3 separate regions of the Homo sapiens genome follow, and all the other regions are linked to region 2. Evidence: promoter capture Hi-C in 16 types of primary human blood cells and fetal thymus (Javierre and others, 2016). All regions are on one chromosome and are shown on one strand. The core of a region is centred on a gene start or on the middle of the fragment in contact, and the rest is flanking DNA. Distances in the headings are between cores, read along the strand shown.

The links. The method cuts DNA at HindIII sites, captures the fragments that hold promoters and counts their contacts. A CHiCAGO score of 5 or more calls a contact.
Region 1: a fragment that was not itself captured here is called in contact with the fragment with the promoter of CDC42BPB in region 2 in 2 of 17 cell types (naive B cells and total B cells); the score reaches 5.9 in naive B cells.
Region 3: a fragment that was not itself captured here is called in contact with the fragment with the promoter of CDC42BPB in region 2 in 1 of 17 cell types (total B cells); the score reaches 5.8 in total B cells.

The regions. Positions count from the first base shown.
Region 1 is chr14:102,708,079-102,710,879 of GRCh38, forward strand. RCOR1 (REST corepressor 1) reads left to right here. Exons shown (of 12, transcript NM_015156.4): 6 at 387-505. Among named protein-coding and RNA genes, the nearest start is that of TRAF3, 68 kb to the right of the region's middle. RefSeq lists an enhancer at 1-822. The HindIII fragment of the contact is 461 bases long and covers 1,208-1,668 here.
Region 2 is chr14:103,055,975-103,058,924 of GRCh38, forward strand. It overlaps CDC42BPB (CDC42 binding protein kinase beta), which reads right to left and starts at 1,575. Exons shown (of 37, transcript NM_006035.4): 1 at 1,025-1,575. The coding sequence starts at 1,199. RefSeq lists silencers at 1,247-1,326, 1,417-1,916, 1,957-2,066 and an enhancer at 2,062-2,712. The HindIII fragment of the contact is 17,633 bases long and covers 1-2,950 here.
Region 3 is chr14:102,682,507-102,685,206 of GRCh38, forward strand. All of the region lies in intron 3 of RCOR1 (REST corepressor 1), which reads left to right. Among named protein-coding and RNA genes, the nearest start is that of RCOR1, 91 kb to the left of the region's middle. The HindIII fragment of the contact is 2,642 bases long and covers 1-2,634 here.

The DNA of each region.
Region 1 (2,801 bases), core at 188-2,687, 350 kb before region 2:
TCTCAGCCTCCCGAGTAGCTGGGACTATAGGCGCCCGCTACCACGCCCGGCTAATTTTTTGTATTTTTAGTAAAGACAGGATTTCACCATGTTGGCCAGGATGGTCTCGATCTCTTGACCTCGTGATCCACCCGCCTCGGCCTCCCAAAGTGCTGGGATTACAGGCGTGAGTCACCACATCCGGCCTAATTTTTTGTATCTTTAGTAGAGACGGGGTTTCACCATATTAGCCAGGATGGTCTCCATCTCCTGACCTCGTGATCCGCCTGCCTTAGCCACCCAAAGTGCTGGGATTACAGGCGTGAGCCGCTGCGCCCGGCCTTAAACATTTGATTTTTAAAGATTACTTTTTTATTTAAATAAACCAACTCATTTTTTATGTTTAGCTTCCAGATAAATCTATAGCAAGTCTGGTGAAATTTTACTATTCTTGGAAGAAGACGAGGACTAAAACTAGTGTGATGGATCGCCATGCCCGGAAACAAAAACGGGAGCGGGAGGAGAGGTGAGCACATGGCTGGGGTGTTGTCTAACCACTTAGGGGACTATCTAAGAGCCCCAGATACACAAAGGCAAGGCAGAATGACTGGTTTTCCCTCCGCGCCTTCCTGGTGGAACCACATGTTCATGAGATGTATTAGAGCGTGTCACATTATTCAGGTATTTTTTCTCACCACTCTTTCCCTGCAGTCAGTGAACTTCCATTTTGAGTCAGTTAACTTTGACCCATTTTTTTTCCTTCCCATTTAGAAGGGGTGGCTCCTTTTAATAAAAAAGAATCTTTTATTTTGTAGTTTGAGGTTTAACGTGGTATATTTTTACAAGATTCATTTGGTGTGTTTTTATGTTTGCCATGTGGAAACAAAAATACAACTTAGAGTTGCTGCTTCTTTTTTTGACCATCTGTTTTTTGTGTGTGAATGAGAAAGAGAAACATTTTATAATCTCTTAGTAAGGATATTAGTTTTAAGGATAGCTCAGTATGGAGAATACTTCTTAACCATCACTTCCTCAGTCTTATATGTAGCATAGAGAAGTAGAAATGGCCAGGTACTCACACTCAGAAATGGGCTCTGGTCTCAGCTCTGAAGATTCCACTTACATGCCACAGGCTACACTGGGATGTTTAAGGTCTTTAATTTATTTTTTAAAATGTGTAAAATTGTACATACTCACAGGCAGGTGACTTCAACATGCGTCTTCCCCAAGCTTCTGTTTTCCTTAACTCTAAAATGAAGATGTTTGAAGTCCAGAAGGCAGCATGCAGACCTAGTGGTTTCCTTGTTAGGGTGGTGAGATATATAGGTGGGTTTTAAAAAATCCTATTTTCCACATTTCCTGTAATATTTTTATCAATTAATAATAAAAAAATAAAATGAAGGAGGATGAAATATATGGTCCCCGGTGTCCCATCTCAGGATGGAATTTTATCATTTCAAATGAAAGAGTAACATGTGAGAACACATTGAAAGTTGAGTATCACTTTTGGAGAATTCAAACCTCTTGGCCCAAGTATAAATTGAGAGTGATGTTAAGAACATCTCCAAAGCTCTTTTAATTGTAAGAGCCTATAAAATTATCGACCATGATACATCTGCATATTTTTGCCTCTGACTTATATACTAGTAGGTTTATTTATGGATGAGTACTCTTATTAACTTTTAATGAAGCTTTTTCATTTCCCTAGTTTACTGTCTATATAGTAAGTCTGTTACTATAAGCAGATGCAGTTTACTAAGCAGCAATCAAAATTAAATAATACAGAGTGGGATTGGATATCCTTGAGTGTGAAATAAGAATACCTGCCAACACTTCCATTCTTACTCCCTGGAGGCTTTTTTTTTGCATTAGTCCCGATGGGGCCAGGAAGTGCTTTGCCTCCACCTCCCATGTGCACCTCAACCACTTTTGGGATGCGGGGATGGAGGTGCTGCAGCAGCACCTGATAAATTGTTGGCTTTCTAACAGGACTTGCCTGTGAAAGTCATGGCAGGGACTGGGACAAAATTCCCTTAGCCGAAGGCTCTTTCTTGTTGTGGACACTCTTTCCTCAGCTAGAGCTTCCTGCTACCTTGGTGGAGGATGGGGAGGAGGTGGCGCGTAGTGGGCATGGTCCCGTGGGATGGATTCCAGAGGCAGTGCGAGGTGGGCAAACTGGGGCAGGCTACTTGACTTCTGTAGACTTAGTTTTCTTTTTTTACAGTTGCATTCCTACCTACATCGGGGCTTTTCTTGTTTCTTTGTTTTAAATTAAATGAAATACTACATTCAGGATATTACAAAAAGCATTTAAAGTGCTATACCAATGTAAGTTTTCTTTTTAAAATTAAACATAATTTTAAAACATCAGTTGTCCAGGACACCAGAAAAGCCTCAGACTTTGTGTGGCCTTGGGTAGAAAGACGGTACTTGGAAAAGGATTTTTTTACTGTTAGCAGGTTTATTCCCAATGCAGTGGAAATTTATTCTCCCATAATTTCTCAGTTTTGTTTAGTAATCATATCCTAGTCCTCAATAGATAATTATGAGAAAATAACATGTAAATGCATTTTCATTTTGATATTTTCAGTTTACAGATATAGAGCAATAGTGTTTTAGATCTGGATTGGGAAGTTAGGAATCTATTTTAGTAGTTTCTCATCACTTAGACTGAAAGAACTATGGAGTTGGTATTCTGTTTGAATTACAAAGATGTTTTTATCTCAGCAGCCTGAAAACATACTAATTTTATATTAAATCAGTTTATTATTTATATTTGGTAAAATTAGTACAAAATTTTCAGTTAAATCAATTTATCGTTT
Region 2 (2,950 bases), core at 325-2,824:
TCAGTGGTTTTAGGTGAGACAGTCTGAGGGTCTTGACCGGCACACCCGTTAGGGAGAGATGAAGTAAAAGAGTTTCACGCTGCACTTTTACCTGTCTTTAGGATCCTAATTATCGTTAAATGGTTTAATCAAATTTTTGTCCTAAAAAAGCATAATAGGTTAGCTGACCAATGATTAAAACATTATAGATCCGGAACGAACTAGAGAAGGCATGCAAAATTCAGATGAGAAAGTTTCTAAGTGATAGCTCCAGCTACCCCTCCAAATATCACAAAGGTCTAGCAGAATTGGAATTAAAAAAAAAAAGTCCTCTTGCACGGTTTATTTAAAATAAAGCCTTAACCTTAAAATTCCCTTGAAGGTGTTACAGCAAAGTAGGTATTCAGGCTCTGACCAACAAGGGGATGTAGACAGGCTGTCACCCAGGAGGGGCCGTTAGAGCTGGGCTCCCTGGGGATGCAAGGGGGTCCCACGGGGCAGTGGGCGAGGCAGATGCAGAAAGCACACCCAGCTGCCCCCACAACGCAGAGAAGCGTGGGGTGGGGAAAGGGAACTAATTCCACACTGCCTCCGGACCCCAAAGGCGAGGTGCGGGGGCGGGGGCGGGGGCGGGGGCGGATATCCCAGTGAGTGCTGCAGGAAATGATATCCAGACTCGGAGGGTGGATCTAGGAAGCCGCCAGGGCGAGGGCCCGGCGGGGGGGAGGGGGTGGGAGTGGGAACGTAGGATGTGGCTCCAAGGGGCAGGATGAGGGGGCGGGACGATCGAACGCGGATGTCGAGCCTAGGGAGGGCAAGGAGGGATGAAAAGCTAGCGGAGGGACGAGGGTGCAAGGAGCGGCTGGAGAGAGATGGGCTGCGGGCCTGGGGGCGCTGCCAGAGCGAGAGGAGGCGAAGCCCACGAGCTGGGTGGGCAGGAGGGCGGCAGGGTCTGTCCGGGCGGGGATGGGCGGGCGTGGGGATGCGCGGGCTGGGGCGCGGGGGTCGCAGAGCCGCAGGTCCGGCCCTGCCGGCGCGCACTTACCCCACTCGAGGAACTCGGCCACGTACTTGTCGCGGCGCAGGGCCGAGTGGCTGCACTCGGTGTACAGGCAGACGAGCACGTCGAGCAGCGTTTCCACGCTCAGGGCGCTCTCGTTGCGCCAGGGCCCGTCCAGGAGCAGCTGCTCCAGCTTCTTGAGCCGCACCTTGGCCGACATGGTGCCGCGCGGCCCGCTCCCGACGCGCCGGCCTCTCACCGCCGGCTCGGCCAGTCCGTCAGGGCGCGCCCTCGGGGGCTCGGCGGCTGCGAGCCCCGGCAGCAGCGGCGCCTCCTCGCCGCCCCGTCCGCGTCGTCGCGCCCCGGCCTAGGCCGACATCTTGGGCTCCGTCCCGACGGCGCAGAGTCTGGGGCGCCGGGCCCCGCGGGTCCATGGGCCGCTCTCCTCCCCTCGGCGCCGCCGCCCTCCCAGCTCGGGCGGCCCGCCCCCGCCGCCCTCAGCCCCGCCCGCGGCCGCGCCCTCCCCGCCGCCGCCGCCGCAGACTAGGAGCGGCGAGGAGCCTAGCGCTGCGCAAGCCCGGCCGGCGCCCGAGCCCGACCCCAGCCCCGACCCGGCGGCCCAGCCCCGCGGCCCGCAGCCAACCAGGGCGCGGCCAGCACCAGCGCAGCCAACCACTACGGGGCCGGCCGCCGCCGCGCTGACCTCAGCGCGCCGCCCCGCCCCGCGCCCGGCTCCCTGCTCCCGGCGGGCTCGGGCCTCGCCGCTTGCCGTAGGGAGCCGGGATGCTGGGAAGGCAGGGCCGGGCCTGGGGAGCGGCGCGGGGTGGGGGTGGGGGGGGCGGGGCGGGGCGAGTGGGCCGCTGAGATTGCGGAGCCCGCGCATGCGCAGAGCGCGCCTGGTGGGCGTGTGCGCCTTCGCCCTGCGGACCCGGTGCCTTCAGTATTCGGGGTCCGACCGCGCGCGTCGCGGATCCCGGGGCCGAAGACGACCCCAAGTATCGGAGAGGCAGAGTCGCGATCTCAGGCCGTCGAGCCCCGTCCCGCAGTCCGCGGGCCCATGTTGCCTGCGGGGCCTCGGACCTGCCCGGCCGAGGTGGGGGTCGAGGGCGGCCCGGCAGGCGCAGCTCTGATGGCCTCGGCGGGTTGTGGGCTATTTAAAACGGCTTGTCCCAGCTCGAAGCGGTCCTGGAAGACTCGGGCCCTACCCCTGACTTTACCGATGAGAGACTGAGGCCCAGACGGTGTGGGGTCAGGGCCCAGGCTTCTGGGGGATGCTGCCAAGGCGGGAGCCAGCGTCCCCAGTGCCCGGTGGATTCGTGATGGCTTGCAGAGGGTTTCAGTTTCCACTGTCCAGCCCTCCCTGCAGACCAATGCCTAGGTGTGACAGTTTGGTAGGAAAGGGGCCGGATATTTGTCTCCAGGCTGGGTTTGCCTAGCGAGTCGCTGCATTTACTAAGATTGTTGGTTAATTTGGGTGGCTGGGGGAGGGAGGCTGATGGAGATACCCCCCAACCCCAACAAACCCTTGGCGTCAGGAGAGGAGGGGCTTTTCCTGGAGCTTGCGGAAGGTCACCGAAATCGTGGGGGTATCTGAGAGCTTCTGGGGCGCGCGGGTGCAGGGGAAGGGGTCATGCTTCCGTGGAAGCGGTGGCCTCCAGGTGGAGCCGATGAAGGGGCAGATAGGGGTTTGAAGCAGGACGTTAAGGGAGCCTGAAGCAAAACTAATCTCTGGAGCTAAAAATAGGAGTGGGCCTGGCGCGGTGGCTCACACCTGTAATCCCAGCACTTTAGGAGGCCGAGGTGGGCGGATTGCCTGAGCTCAGGACTTCGAGACCAGCCTGGGCAACACGGTGAAACCCCGTCTCTACTAAAATACAAAAAACTAGCCGGGCGTGGTGGCGCGCGCCTGTAGTCCCAGCTACTCGAGAGGCTAAGGCAGGAGAATTACTTGAACCCGGGAGGCGAAAGTGC
Region 3 (2,700 bases), core at 64-2,563, 370 kb before region 2:
TTTCCTGAACTTTGCTAAATAAGTTTGCTTCCATATGTGTCCTTTAAATGTTCAGTCATCGTATCTCCTTTACTGTCTGAGTCCAAGCTAGTTGCTTCAGGTGCCTTTTCAGATGGTTTTTTTGGGGATCTCTTTTCATCTCCTGTTGTCCTTCTAAGTGTGTTCCAGTTGGCCACAATGTCCATCTTAAATTGTACTCAGAACTGAATATGAAGAATACTGAGCATTTTTTGAACCTTTATGCCAGCACAGTACTAAAATGTTTTTCATACTCCTGTATCATTCAGTGTTCACAGTAACCCAGGAGGAAGATTTTTTCTCTGTTTTACAGATGGCATCCCATAGTTCAAAGAGTCAGAGGGTTGTAAAAGTAGCACAGATAGTGAGTGGCGGAACCCCAAGTAGTTCACTCCTGGGTCATAATCTCACTTATTTCTCAGGCTGTGTTCATTTAGCCTGTTAGCCACTATCTTTCTGTTATTACAGTTTAAAGTTGTATTAGTCACTTTTCCTATTGTATTGCTTATTGGAGTCTTTGGAGTCAGAATTTAATTTTAATGTTATCTTATTTTTCATAGACCTAGAAGAAAAGGGCAGAATATGTAAAGTTAATTGATTTTTAAACAGTGGTGTTGCCTATAAAATAAATTTACAGTTTTATTGTAAGCCCTGATTACAATCGTTTTAAGTTTAAAGTTGGTTAAAACTTTAAACTTTAAAAAAACTAACCTGTCCACTGAGGCTCCCAGTGGACAGCGAGCTCGGCTTGTGGCTGAGACACACTTGAGCCAGGCCAGAGGCATAGGAGGACCAAATTTGACAGATATCAATACACGATTCTTACTGAGGCCTTTGAAACGGACCCTTGTCCTGGAATTACTGTCAGAAAAGAACCGGCCAGAAAAACAGACTCCCGAGCCACGAGTCCAGGTTTGGTTTCAGAATTGGAGAGGTGGAGCACGGAAAAGAAGCCAGAGCAGCGCCAGCGTGGAGGCCACCTGGGCGCAGGTCCCCCCGATCCCAGACCCTGGTCAGCCTGGGGTGCTGACCCCTACTGTTCCACCAGCGGGGCTTCCCCGGGGGTCCCAAGCAATGTGGGCAACTTCTCTTGGGAATCGGAGGATGCTTTGGGCCAAGCTCTCCTCTGGGGGCGCGCTGATGTTCCGTGCGCGAATGTGGCCCCCGCTGACCTGGAGATGGCAGCCAGTGCGCTCGGCCACGCTTAGGGAGATGTCCCTTGATCTCCGCCCTCGGGCCCAGTGCTGCTTCCGGGTCCCTCTTGCCACCAGCCCTTCCCACAGCTGGAAGCTGGCAGTGCTGGGCCTCAAGTTCATCCCGGGGCACCCGGCCTGCTCCCCATACACCAGTCCCTAGCTCTGCGGGGGCTGGGGCTGCACCCTCCTGCTGTGGAGCAGCAGCCGAGGTGGGGCTGGCAGCTGGGGGAGGCGCCTGGGTGCGCCGTGACCTGGGAGCAGCCCTCTCCGCCCCAGCCCCCGCAGCTCTGACCGTATCCCGCCTCTCTGCCTCTTTCCTGGCCATAGTCACAGCCACAGCCATCGCAGGACCCGGCTGAGCGCTAGGAACAGGTTCCTTGTCTTCCTCCAGAATCCAACTCGCACGGGAGGCCCCAGCACCCCTGCCCCCAACCCGCTGCGGAGTCTGAACCTCAAGCGGCTGCATAGCAAACCCGTGGAAATGACCTGTCAGTGTCAGGCAGTGGAAGACAGATGAACTAAGCAAGGGCTCATCGGTAGTGTTCACGTTATGAAAATTGAAGAGAAATATCAAGATTTATTTACTTTGTCACGGAAGGGCTTCCAGACATACCTTTCAGGGAAATCGAGTTGTTAGGGTGGAAGGGCCTTGGGGTGCATGAGACCTAGGGGTTTTCCTTAGATGGCATAAAAAAGGATTGACTTTATAGAATACATCTGTCTTTCCATTTATTAACCGAGTAAACACGGAGCACTGAGAGTGAACAAAGTCCACTAGCGAGAAGGCAGGATGAGGACGGCTTTGTAGAAATGCATTATTTTCTATCAGGAAAGAGCAATGATTTCTACTCTGGGAAAAAAACAAAACAAACACTTACCTAAAAGTAATATTTACATATTGTTGAAAGTTCATAGATAAAAGTATAAAGAATAAAAAAAATTCACCTATTATTCCATCACCCAGAGGTGATAATCGTTAAACATTTTGGGGTATTTCTTCCAATTTTTTTTGTATGTATTTATATAAGTGAGATGATAGATTATCTGTGTGTGTGTATGTGTGTATTGTCTTCCTGAGCATCGGACCTAAGCAGTTTCCACGTTGTTAAAACTGCTTATAAAGGTTTTAAATAACTAGGTGTAATACTTTATTACATGGATATGTCAGTATGTTTAACAATTACTCTATTGAAAATTTAGGTGTCTCAGTTTTGGAAGAATATGGAAGTCTTGGTTGTCCAGCATTTATTCTGACATTAAGTAGAAATAAGTGATTTAGGACATATTTCTAGCAGATACTAAAAAACTGTGTATAGGATGTCTGGAGATCCCTGGCTTTTCTTGTGTGTGTGTGTGTGTTTTTTTTTTCCTCTTCTTTTCAAAGTGGCTGTTCAGAGTTCTGCCTCTTAGGGTTACTGAAAGCTTATAAAGTTATGTTGTAATTATAAAAATAAATGCTATTTTAGAAAATTCAAATAGTACATAA